2 separate regions of the Homo sapiens genome follow, and region 1 is linked to region 2. The links are contacts of gene promoters, found by promoter capture Hi-C in blood cells and fetal thymus (Javierre and others, 2016). All regions are on one chromosome and are shown on one strand. Each heading gives the region's core, a stretch centred on a gene start or on the middle of the fragment in contact. The rest is flanking DNA. Distances are from core to core; before and after follow the strand shown.

Region 1 (6,906 bases), core at 4,040-6,539, 2.5 Mb before region 2:
AATGATTTGAGGAATACAGAATTGTTTTTGCTCCAATATAGTGTGGATAAAATAGCCAAAGTTTAGAGCAATTTACCTGGAAGCAAATAGATGTGAATTCTAGTCATTCTGCCATTTTGTAATTCAACAACCACGACTAACTCACTTAACTTTTGGTGCTTTAGTTTCCTTATCAACCAAGCAATAGAATTTTCCTGGGGGTCTTTAAGATGTCTAACAGTCCAGTCATTTTATGATTCTACCATTGTCTGATTATAAAAATAATAGGATTTGGCTGGGCGTGGTGGCTCATGCCTGTAATCTCAACACGTTGGGAGGCCGAGACGGGTAGATCATCTGAGGTCAGGAGTTCGAGACCAGCCTGGCCAACATGGCAAAACCCCGTCTCTACTAAAAATACAAAAATTAGCTGGGTGTGGTGGCACGTGCCTATAGTCCCAGCTACTTGGGAGGCTGAGGCGGGAGAATTGCTTGAACCCAGGAGGCGGAGGTTGAAGTGAGCAGAGATCATGCCACTGCACTCCAGCCTGGTGACAAAGCGACATTCCATCTCAAAAAAAAATTTAAAAAACAATAATAATAGAATTCATTTCTTCACTCAAAGACAGTGTGTCCAAGACCTGACAAGACTTCATTTTTATTTTTATTTTACTTTTTATTTTTTTGAGTCTACGTGTCCTGCTCTTGCCCAGGCTGAGGTGCAGTGCATGATCTCAGCTCACTGCAACCTCCTCCTCCGAGCCTGAAGTGATTCTCCTGCCTCAGCCTCCGGAGTAGCTGGAATTACAGGCACGCACCACCATGTCCGTGAGCCACCGCACGCGCCCAGCCTAACAGCTCTTATAATTAAATCCTTACTTCAGAAGAAAAGTTTTAAAATCTTTAAAAATCTTCAAAAATCTTCACAGGGCACCAGTGGCAGCAACAGCTTCTGTTTTTCCCTTCATGTTAAAAGCAAACAAGGATCAACTATTGGCAAAATTAAGTGCTGGAAGTATAGATCTTTTAGAGAAATACCCAGCCTTATAGTCCCGAAACCTTTTCCTGCATCTCTGCTTGAGGAATGTACAGTCTTCTCTTCACCTCCTTTGTCCCTTGGTCTGATTAGGAAAACAATCCAAGCCTCCCAGTGTGGTTACTTAAACTTACTTTAACATTTACATTTTAACTAACATCTTTATTCACAGAATGAAATATTTGGCACTTAGTCTAGGGATGTCATGCACTAGGAAACAAGTAATAGATTTCTTGTAAGGCTTGGTGGGGAAGACTTAACAATTCTGTGTCTGTGACCATTCTGCAGAACACACTGCTGCTCCTGAGGTAAAGAGCCTTAAGATTCTGGAGACTATGAAATGCTCATTCATCCAACCAGCATAGATCGTGCTCACAGTGTGCAAGGCATTGGTAGCAATGCATGTGGCAAAGTTTCACTCTCATGCAACCTACATTCTTATAAATGGGGTAGCCATAAAATAAACAAATAAGTATAGAAACAAACAAGAGGCTGGGCGTGGTGGCTCACGCCGGTAATCCCAGCACTTTGGGAGGCCGAGGTGGGCAGATCACGAGGTCAGAATATTGAGGCCATCCTGGCTAACAAGGTAAAAGCCCATCTCTAGTAAAAATACAAAAAATTATCTGGGTGTGGTGGCATGCACCTGTAATCCCAGCTACTCAGGAGGCTGAGGCAGGAGAATCGCTTGAACCCAGGAGGTGGAGGTTGCAGTGAGCGGATACGGCGCCACTGCACTCCAGCCTGGGGGACAGAGTGAGATTCCGTCTCAAAAAAAAAAAAAAAAAAAGGAAACAAGATACACTGGAAGTTCTCTAACCTTCAGTCAGTATGTTCCACACAGGGAATGAAGAACTTAGGCTATTCTTCTGTTTCCATCTATATATCTAACAAGAATTAAATTATTCTCAGAACTGATTATGCCAGTTGTAATTACATAGTTCATATAAATATCATGGAAGCCAATAAAATATGAGTTGTTTCTTGGAATGCTGAATTTAATGCTTTGTAAGGACTTCATTAAAAATTACTTAAAAATTATAAAACAGGCCGGGTGCAGTGTGTAATCAAGCCTGTAATCTCAGCACTTTGGGAGGCTGAGGAGGGTGGATCACTTGAGGTCAGGAGTTCAAGACCAGCCTGACCAACATGGTGAAACCCCGTCTCTACTAAAACTACAAAACATTAGCCAGGCATGGTGGTGCACAGCTGTAATCCCAGCTACTCAGGAGGCTGAGACACGAGAATCTCTTGAACCTGGGAGGCGGAAGTTGCAGTAAGCCGAGATCCCACCACTGCACTCCAGCCTGGGCAACAAAGTGAGACTCTGTCTCAAAAAAAAAAAAAAGTATTTTTAAAAGGTTCTCAGCCGGGTATGGTGGCTCACGCCTGTAATCCCAGCATTTTGGGAGGCCAAGGCAGGTGGATCACCTGAGGTCAGGAGTTTGAGACCAGCCTGGCCAACATGGTGAAACCCTGACTCTACTAAAAATACAAAAAAAAAAAAATTAGCCAGGTGTGGTGGCGGGCACCTGTAGTCCCAGCTACTCGGGAGGCTAAGGCAGGAGGACCACTTGAACCCAGGAGGTGGAGGTTGCAGTGAGCTGAGATTGTACCACTGCACTCCAGCCTGGGTAACAGAGTGAGACTCTGTCTCAAAATAAATAAATAAAATAAAATAACAAATTCTCACTCCAGTTTAAAGAAACTGAATTGCTGATTAAAGGTTATGGTTAATGTATGGATGCCAGTCAGCAGATCCATGCTAGTAATAATAATAATAATGGCTTTAGCTCTATATTATTTAAACATTGTTATAACAAAAAGATTAAGATTTCTCTATATCAAATATGTATATATAATATCTTCATATTTAATACGTTAGGAGGCTCAAAGATAGAGGTAGCCAGACCTCTTGACTTTTTTTTTTTTTTTTTTTGAGCTGGAGTCTTGCTCTGTCACCCAGGCTGGAGTTCAGTGGCACGATCTCTGGTCACTGCAAGCTCTGCCTCCCGGGTTCACACCATTCTCCTGCCTCAGCCTCCCAAGTAGCTGGGACTACAGGCACCCACCACCATGCCCTAATAATTTTTTGTATTTTTAGTAGAGATGGAGTTTCACCGTGTTAGCCAGGATGGTCTCGATCTCTTGACCTCATGATCCGCCCGCCTCGGCCTCCTAAAGTGCTGAGATTACAGGCGTGAGCCACCGCGCCCAGCCGACTCTTGTAACTCCTCAAATCACCCCATCTCTTGACCTGACCCCGAGATAAGCCTCCTTATTTCCACACTCTAGACTTTCTTACGTGCTTATAAGATAGAGATGTTGACTTCCTGCACGTTTCCCATTCCTTCGTTTCATGCCTTTCACGTACATCATAGCCGTAATGTTTCTATTTCTGGATTATAACAAAGGTGTTAAGTTGGTTTTCTTTGGTCTTCTCCCCTGTGTTTCTCTGCCATCTCTCGTTTCTTGTTTCTGCCCTGCCCGGCTGTGTGTCTTGTGCATTACGGTTATCCTACTCATCTTTCACCTGATTTAAAAAACTCATTCAGTCTAGGACTTAGAGTGTAAGTGTGTTCAAATAGTGTTAGGTTCACATAATGTCTAAAACTTTTAGTAGGAAAAATGCTACCTTGCCAATTTGTCTGTGTCTGAAAGGAATTTGCATTTAAAAATTTGGCAATTTGACAGAGGCAAATTTAAAATTTGAAAATATTTTCTTAAATATAGACTCATTTACAGATAGAAGGCAAGGGCAGGAAGTGATGGTGACCAGCGGTGCCTGAATGAACTCAGGAATGTAACTGTAGATCTAGGGTCCCAAACTTTAGGTTTCAAAGGATCTCTTGGAGTACTTGCTGAAAAATGTAGGTTCCTAAGTCCACTGCCAGAAACTCTGACTCAGTGGGTCAAGAATGGAATAACTAAACAATGGCCCCATGCAGTGGTTCATGCCTGTAATCCCAGCACGTTGGGAGGTTGAAGCAAGAGGATCACTTGAGGTCAGGAGTTCGAGACCAGCCTGGCCTACATGGTAAAACCCCATCTCTACTAAAAATACAAAAAAATTAGCTGGGCATGGTGGCATGCACCTGTAATCCCAGCTACTTGGGAGGCTGAGGCAGGAGAATTGCTTGAATCTGGGAGGTGGAGGTTGTAGTGGGCCGAGATTGTGCCATTGCACCACTGCACTCCAGCCTGGGCGATAAAGTGAGATTCTGTCAAAAAAATAAATAAATACATGAAAGAGAGAAAGAAAGAAAGAAAGAAAGAAAGAAAGAAAGAAAGAAAGAAAGAAAGAAAGAAGGAAAGAAGGAAAGAATAGAAAAGAAAAGAAAGAAAGAAAGAAAGGAAGAAAAGGAAAGAAAGAAATGCTGAATAAGATATAGAGACAACATACAGCTGGGCCAGCTTATGACATCTGATAGTGGGGAGATTTGGGGCTGGGTCCTGAATCTGAGGGTAATTAACTCCCTGTAACTTCTTTTCCTAATCTGTAAAAGGATAGTGACAGCGAGACATTGTGATGGGGTTAATATTTTGGAAAACATCCACATGTTTTTTTCCTTTGCCTTTCTGAGTGTGTCAACTACTTCCTACCTGTCCAGCCTAACACACAGGCATGTTGTCTTGGTAGGGATGGAGATCTGAGAAGGAGATTAGAATTTGTGTCTGAAGGTTTGCAAAGAGGAAGAAGTCGTCAATATTTAGATTCTGACATTCAAGATGGAATTATGTAGCAAGACCATTGCTATGAGACAGTATTTCTATTTTCCTTTATCCACTCCCACCCTGCCCTCTTCCCACCCTCACAGTAGCATGAGAAAAACCACATATGGAAGTTTCAGGTCATAAAAATTATCTTATAATTTAGAAAACAGGCCTTGTGCCTATGACAGCCAGGCCATGAGGCTTAGAGCTCTGTGGTAGAATGAGGATATGTTAGGGAAAAGCAAAGAAAATCCCTCCCCTCTTTGGCTGAGGACATTATCAAAAGGAGAGCAAGAAAGAGAAGAGAGAAATGGGCTTGAGGTGAGTGCAGATAAGGGGTGCATGGATCCTGAGGGCAAGGAGAGGAGCTTCTTTCAGTTTCCCTCCTTTCCAACGACTACTTTGAGACAAGAGCTGTCCCTGGGCAGTAGGAAAGGGGAGGGACAGTTGCAGGTTCAATAGATGTGGGTGGGGCCAAGGCCACAGAACCCAGAAAAACAACTCATTCGCTTTCATTTCCTCACTGACTATAAAAGAATAGAGAAGGAAGGGCTTCAGTGACCGGCTGCCTGGCTGACTTACAGCAGTCAGACTCTGACAGGATCATGGCTATGATGGAGGTCCAGGGGGGACCCAGCCTGGGACAGACCTGCGTGCTGATCGTGATCTTCACAGTGCTCCTGCAGTCTCTCTGTGTGGCTGTAACTTACGTGTACTTTACCAACGAGCTGAAGCAGGTCAGTGCAGTGCAGTGCACTCAGTCTTCGAGGCGCTTAGCAAATGTCTGGTTACCTGCTTCTTTGCATGTCAGCTTGCCCCTCTCTGAAGACTTTCCTGCTTCCTTTCTCTGTGGGTACACTCTAACTGCTAAATCACATAACAACTGAGGTCTTTGCAAAACTGTAAGTTCAAGAAATTGTGTAAACTAAGTGCAGTTACACAACTGGCTTCACTAGTTACTAGCAGATGTGGGCAACAAAACTCCTGAGGGATTTTTTGTTTTTAAAAGTATGTGTATTTTATAATATCAGCCATTGCAACTCTTCATGAAAGCTTTCTGCTAAATGCTTTGTAGTTCTTTTGTTTTCCTTTTCCAAACTTTTATTTGTGCACATTCAATTGAAAAAGATAATTTTTACAGGTTCTTTGGTGCCCATTTTCAGCATACAAAAATGTAAAAGACTATTCACAGATAAAACACATTAGCTCAAAATGGAAAAAAATAACAATGACAACAATAAAACAACCTAAGGTAGTGCACACTGTGACAGCTCTGCTTATGGGGACATGAGAATTCCTGCGAAAATAAATAGAATGTCCTTTTGTAAAAGCAGCAATGACATGTCTTGTAAACTTCCTTTTTTATATTATAACAAGGTTTGGAATAAAATCCAAAGGGACTGGAGCTTACACTGTAGCCATGAATAAATAAAAGAGTCTATTTCCTCAATTACCGTTGGTTCAGTTTTCCTTTTGAGTCCAATGTGCAGCAGGTTTTAAAAGGTGCACAGTAAGAGATTCTAACCAATTAAGTGGTGAATGATAAAATTTCTTTCCTGCTTTCAAACACAAATGGGTAAATCTGTTCCACAGCAGTAGCAACAGCCTTTAAATAGGGCCTTGTTACTGTGATACTTCCTGTCGAAAAAATCTGTAATGTAGCTCTTAGAGTCTTTATCCAATAGCACACAGCAGGATGAAGTTCAGATTCATAACTCACATGAGGTCTATTGCTCTTTGTGAATTCTGGCAAACAGATTTCTTTATTTTTAAATTTTTTTATTTTACTTTAAGTTCTGGGATACGTGTACAGAACGTGCAGGTTTGTTACATAGGTATACATGTGCCATGGTGGTTTGCTGCACCCATCAACCCATCATCTAGGTTGTAAGCCCCACAGGCATTAGGATTTGTTCTAATGCTCTCCCTCCCCTAGCCTCCCACCCCCGACAGGCCCCAGTGTGTGTGTTGCCCTCCCTGTGTCCATGTGCTCTCACTGTTCAACTCCCACTTATGAGTGAGAACATGCAGTGTTTGGTTTTCTGTTCCTGTGTTAGTTTGCTGAGAATGATGGCTTCCAGCTTCATCCATGTCTCTGCAAAGGACATGAATTCATTCTTTTTAATGGCTGCATAGTATTCCATGGTGTATATGTGCCACATTTTCTTTATCCAGTC
Region 2 (6,053 bases), core at 1,848-4,347:
TAACTTCAACAGCTCCCTCTCAGAATCACTATTCCAAAGTACTGACCAAGCATGACAGAATGAGTAGGAATTATAGGCTAAATCTGGAGAAAAGAAATCTGGAGCAAGCCTGATGAAGATATAGCTATTACTCCTTCCTTACCCTCTTTCAAGCATGATTCTTAAAAAAAATGTGTTACCACCATGCAGAACTTTTAGGAGTCAGTGCTTTGCTAAATATTTACATGTCATGATCGCTGAAGCAAACAAGATAAAGATGAAATAGGCAACACAACACAGCTAAGCTCTCTCTCAAGCAATAAGCAGCCCTCTACTCATCTTGTGCTTTGTTTTCATCATATACACTTTTTACTGAGGCATGCAATGCTTTCAGAAGTGTACATAAATCCTAAGTGCATACCGACACGTGTGTTCACTACTGCAAACTCTGTTTTTTGATGAACACAACTTGGAAGGGATTTGGGCAATTAGGAAAAACTGCTAACACGTTTTATACAATCCGCCCGACCGGAGGCAATCAACCCCCAGGCTTGCTAATGCCCTTTGTGTAAAAAAAGCTGACCTAGCCTCCACCTGCATCAACTTGATCCGCTCAGCTTTGTCACACTCAGCAAACACCCTCTGCCTTCTGAGCAAAATAAATCGGCACCTCCAGTAGGGAGAAAAAAACTTTTTATGACCGAGTCTGGAGAAGCAGCCTTGACACCCAATTTACAAAGAACGAGCGTCTGCGGAAGACCTTGCATCTAGACTCGGCTGCAGTGCCAAACCTACCTTATGCAAAAAAGCTCCACAAGTGGTGGTGTTCTGTTTAAAGGAAAATGCCAAACACACACAAATACTGAAACAATAGCATAAGGACTTCCATAACCATCATCCAGCTTCAACTATTTTTATTTTTGTTTTACTTTAAGTTCTGGGATACAGGTGCTGAATGTGCAGGTTTGTTAATAGGTATACATGTGCCATGGTGTTTTGCTGCACCTATCAACCCGTCATCTAGGTTTTAAGCCCTGCATGCATTAGGTATTTGTCCTAGTGCTCTCCCTCCCCTTTCCCCCCACCCTCCGACAGGCCCCCGTGCCTGAAGTTCCCCTGCCTGTGTCCATGTGTTCTTCCCAGCTTCAACTATTAACAATCCATGAACAATCTCCTCTCATCTTGTTCCCCTCCCTTCTCTGCTAGCATCTAAAACTGAATAATTCTGAAGCAAATCCCAAAGCTGTATTTCAACTTCAGTCTGTGTCTCTACAGGGATTTTAAAAACCTTAATCAGGATACCGTTACCAAAAGTAACTAAACAGAACTATTATAATTTCCTTGATACCATCAAATAATCAGTAGAAATGTCCTTCATCGTCTCCTTATTTATTTATTTATTTTGAGACGGAGTCTCGCTCTGCCTCCCAGGCTGGAGTGCAGTGGCGCCATCTCGGCTTACTGCAACCTCCGCCTCCCGGGTTCAAGCGATTCTCCTACCTCAGCCTTCCCGAGTAGCCGGGATTACAGGCGCGTGTCACCACACCCAGCTAATTTTTGTATTTTTAGTAGAGAAGGGTTTCACCATGTTGGCCAGGCTGGTCTCGAACCCCTGACCTCAGGTGATCCACCCACCTCGGCCTCCCAAAGTGCTGGGATTACAGGTGTGAGCCACCGCACTCGGGCATCATCTCCATTTTAAAAAACATTCATCAAATCAGGATCCAACCAACGTCCACACCTTGTATTGCCACCGAATTTCTCTTAAATCGTTTTGAAACTGCACACAGGTCCTCCTCCCTGCAATTCGCATAGCAACCAAGCTGATCCTCACTGACAATTTCCAAATAACTATAATAACTCTATTCTGGAGATATCACAAGTGCCGGTCTTAGAGCTTGTCAAATGTATACATATATGTTTATATTTATATATAAATGCACAAAAGCACACAAGAAACCATTTCACTCGAAGCAATAACAATCCTGAGAGCTAAACACTCGTTCATGTCTTTTGTGATGCTTCTCGGTGGGGGTTATCTCTGGGATTTAAGCGACACTTCCCCTTACCGGAGACATTTGCGCAAGTGTAGGACGAAGCGAGAGCGGTTCCTTCCAGCCGAACCTGCCTCCGGAGGCCCGGTCCGTGCGTTCGTCTCCGGACTGCAGGGGGCGGCCCTGCCACCACCTCGAGGCCACCTGCGCAGGTGAGAAAAGGAGTTTCAGTCTCCGGGTTCCTGGGGGTGGTCGCAGGTAATCTAGAGGGAATTTTGAGCCAGCCAGGATGGTCATCCAGGAACCTACCCGGACGCAACGGCCTCGGAAAACAAATAGCCGGGCAAGGCCCTGGGGCTTAATCCCAGTGGCGGGCGCGGGCGGGGGCGCCGTCCCCAACGCTCGAGGCCAGGGGAGGGGAGGCAAAGTCGGCCCCAATGAATGCACGCACGCGCGCGCGCGCGCGTGTGTGTGAGACTATTCACCTCTGGGCGCCAGGAAAGAGCGAAGAGTTGCATACACCCATTTCTATAACCTTGCTGGGTTTGTCATGTTTAAAAAGCATCTCCCCTGGAGAGAGGGTGGCGAGTCTCTGGGTGCGGGACACGCCCATTCCCCAGACCCCCTGCCCTCAAACCCACGACAGACCCCAGTTGCTAAGGCTCCGCGGTAATCCCCATCCCGAAGCAGGAAGGCTCGGGCGTCCGGGCTCCACTCCTGGATCTCTTAAGTAGCAGAGAACCCCCAGCCCCTGAGTTCCTGCAAAGGAAATTCCTTCCCCTCCCAGGCGCGCTGAACGCCCGGCCAGGGAGGCTGGGAGCGGCGCGGGGACCGTTCGCCGCCCCGAGGCTGGGACGCCGGTGGCGAGAGCGCCGGGCGCCCTCCACCTGCGCCCGCACTCACCCGAGGATCGATGGCTGTCGGCTCCGCAAGGTTGAGGCCCCGACACCTGCAGCGCCCGTGCCCAGGTGACCGCCCGAGGGAGGGGCGAGGGCCCAGCTCGCCCGCCTGGTCCCGCCCCGCCCCGCCCCGCCCCGCGCGCTCCCGGGAGGGGCAGGGGAGCACGGCCCCGGGACCCCGCGGCGACCCTGCTGTGGCTCAGCCGGCTCCAGACCAGGAAATGCGGGCGTCAGAGACGGGCAACCTTTGAGCGCGCACGTCCCGTCCGGGCCCAACGAAACAAGGGCCGGAGGGCGCCGCCTGCCGGCGGGACGGAAAGATATCACAGAGACTGTCACCCCCCGCCGGCTAGGAGAGGGCTGAGTTGAGGCTGGCAGAGGGACGCAGCCAGGGGTGCGCAGTGCGGGAGCCGCTTGGGGGCTCAGTGAGACCCCCTTCCTCATGCCACATCTTGAGGACCCGGCCCCTGTCCTAGGAGCTCCCCATCTCCCCAGCAGGCGGGCGAGCGGGGGCCACTGGGTCAGGGCCTCTCCTTCCCTTACCTCTGCAAATGTAAACTTGGCAGTTGTCTCCAGATAAGAGTTTACACAGGGTGGCCAGGCGGTGGCTCATGCCTGTAATCCTAGCACTTTGGGAGGTCAAGGTGGGCGGATCACTTGAGGTCAGGAGTTTGAGACCAGCCTGGCCAACATGGTCCACGTTGGTCCCCATGTCTACTAAAAATACAAAAATTAGCCGGGCTTGGTGGCACGCACCTGTAATCCCAGCTATTTGGGAAGCTGAGGCACGAGAATCGCTTGAACCCAGGAGGCGGAGGTTGCAGTGAGCTAAGACCGCACCACTGCACTCCAGCCTGGGCAGCAACAGCAAGACTCCGTATCAAAAAAAAAAAAAAAAAAAAAAAAAAAAAAAAAAAAGAGTATACACAGGGTGACAGAACTTCTTGAAACTTGTATGCTTCTAAGCAACCGCCTGCAGTGTACTGTGAATTCAGATTTTTAAATAAAAATCTGCAAATATTAAATAGCCCATATATTGCATTGCCTTTTTTGTGTCAACAGTGCTAATTTGTTGTCATTCAACAAATATTTGTTGAGCACCTACGACTTGCCGGTCATTTAAACATTTAAAATATCGAACAATTAGGCCAGCGCAGTGGCTCAAGCCTGTAATCCCAGCACTTTGGGAGGCCGAGGCGGGTGGATCACTTGAGGTCACGAGTTCAAGACCAGCCTGGCCAACATGGTGAAACCCTGCCTCTACTAAAAATACAAAAATTAGTTGGGCGTAATGGCACATGCCTGTAGTCCCAGCTACTTGGGAGGCTGAGGCAGGAGAATGACTTGAACCCAGGAGGCAGAGGTTGCAGTGAACCAAGATCACGCCATTACACTCCAGCCTGGGCAACAGAGACAGACTTCATCTGAAACAAATAAAATAAAATAAAATATTGCACAATTTCTTCCTTCTCCTCTTCACGCAGAGCCTTGAACAAGGGGAGTGTCCTGAGCCTCTCAACCTCTCTGAGTGTCATAGCAGTTAGAGATTAAAGATGACCATGTCCATACACGTTTGTATCTCTCCACAATGTCAGTCTTTTTTTTTTTTTAAATGCTATTTCAATCACAAAATCCAGGAGCTACATGGAGTTCCCAAGGAGGCAATTCTCCTTAGTCCTTCCCATTCACTCTGTAGTCAGAGCACATAGGTTCAAGCCACTCCATAAGTCAGTAAATATTGCAAACCATACATACTAGTATACTTAATCACTATACGAATGTTGTAGATTAAACATTCCACAACAAAGTAATATTTAACATCAAGACGAAGAAGAGGAGAAAGGGTTAATGAACCAGTCCAAAGGGAGGGAAGAAGACAAAGGGAGTCCTGGTCTGGGCCTGGTGGTCTTGCAAGGAAGAGTCTTTGATGTGGCAGAGCTTTCGGTGGCAAATTCTGAGTTCTTATCATGAGTGACTGCAAGACGGTGTTAGTGAAGACAGCCAAGCTGAAGGCTTCGCTCTTTTACAGTCAGAGGGTCCTCTGGTGAGAACTTATAGTGGATGAGTGTGCTTGTTTGTGTTCTTTTTTAAAATTTGTTCGTCAAGCAAAACATCTTATCCTTGTTAGCAAAGTGCCCATGAAATATAAAATGGAGGGTTTTTCTAAGATGGAATTAGTTACCTCAAGGGTGGTTTATACACTGAGAGTCTGGACTAGCCTTGCAAGGAACTCAGTAATTGCCCAAGGGTGCAAGAAGAACCCTGATAGAATTAAGTGTGGGTTGCTAGGGAGACTGAGGAGCAGCTTCACCTGGCCTGGAGTGGCAGAGAGAACTTCCTGGAGAAGTGCAGAGGCCAACTGAATCACAGAGGAGTACCGGGTTCAACGGGATGTGAGGTGCTTCCGCCAAGATTCCAACGTGTGCAAAGTGGGAAGTGGAAAGCCAGGCAGAGAGTTCATGTTCTAATAAGGGAATGGCAAGTGGGTCAGAAGACCTGAGAGGGAGAGGATGGGAGTTGAGTTAGAGCAGAGGGCATGGGGGCCAAATCATACTCATAACAAAAATAACCATCATCTAGGGAGTGGATAGTATAGAACAGGAGCTGGACATACATAACTTCAAACGAGCCTCACGCCAACCCTGCAAGGTAGGGTTATTACTCTCCTTTATAGAAGAGGAAAATGAGAGCCGGGCACAGTGGCTCACACCTGTAATCTCAGCACTTTGGGAGGCTGAGGTGGGCAGACTGCATGAGGTCAGAAGTTTGAGACCAGCCTGGCCAACATGGTGAAACCCCGTCTCTACTAAAAATACAAAAATTAGCCAGGCATGGTGGCGGGCGCCTGTAATCCCAGCTACTCAGGAAGCTGAGGCAGGAGAATCACTTGAACCTGGGAAGCGGAGGTTGCAGTGAGCTGAGATCACACCATTGCACTCCAGCCTGGGCGACAAGAGCGAGACTCTGTCTCAAAAAAAAAAAAAAAAAAAAAAAAGAAGAGGAAAATGAGACTGAGACCCAGGAAGGAGAGACATATTGCTAGTGACAAGGCTGGGGTAGGGTAGCTCTGAGCAGCCAGGCTGCCCTGTCAATGCCTCTCTCCAGGCGGATCTGGGAGGCTGGATTTATCTTCAAATACTTTCAGCATCCCCAAGTGCCTGCCACTCTCCCACCATTTCTT

What was found. The method cuts DNA at HindIII sites, captures the fragments that hold promoters and counts their contacts. A CHiCAGO score of 5 or more calls a contact.
Region 1: the fragment with the promoter of TNFSF10 here is called in contact with the fragment with the promoter of GPR160 in region 2 in 1 of 17 cell types (neutrophils); the score reaches 5.1 in neutrophils.

The regions. Positions count from the first base shown.
Region 1 is chr3:172,521,813-172,528,718 of GRCh38, reverse strand. TNFSF10 (TNF superfamily member 10) reads left to right here and starts at 5,289. Exons shown (of 5, transcript NM_003810.4): 1 at 5,289-5,466. The coding sequence starts at 5,335. It also overlaps the pseudogene TBPL1P1. RefSeq lists an enhancer at 5,308-5,357. The HindIII fragment of the contact is 8,260 bases long and covers 1-5,784 here.
Region 2 is chr3:170,035,039-170,041,091 of GRCh38, reverse strand. It overlaps GPR160 (G protein-coupled receptor 160), which reads right to left and starts at 3,097. Exons shown (of 4, transcript NM_014373.3): 1 at 2,877-3,097; 2 at 2,049-2,177. RefSeq lists silencers at 2,073-2,122, 2,283-2,332, 2,643-3,122 and an enhancer at 1,718-2,217. The HindIII fragment of the contact is 12,490 bases long and covers 1-6,053 here.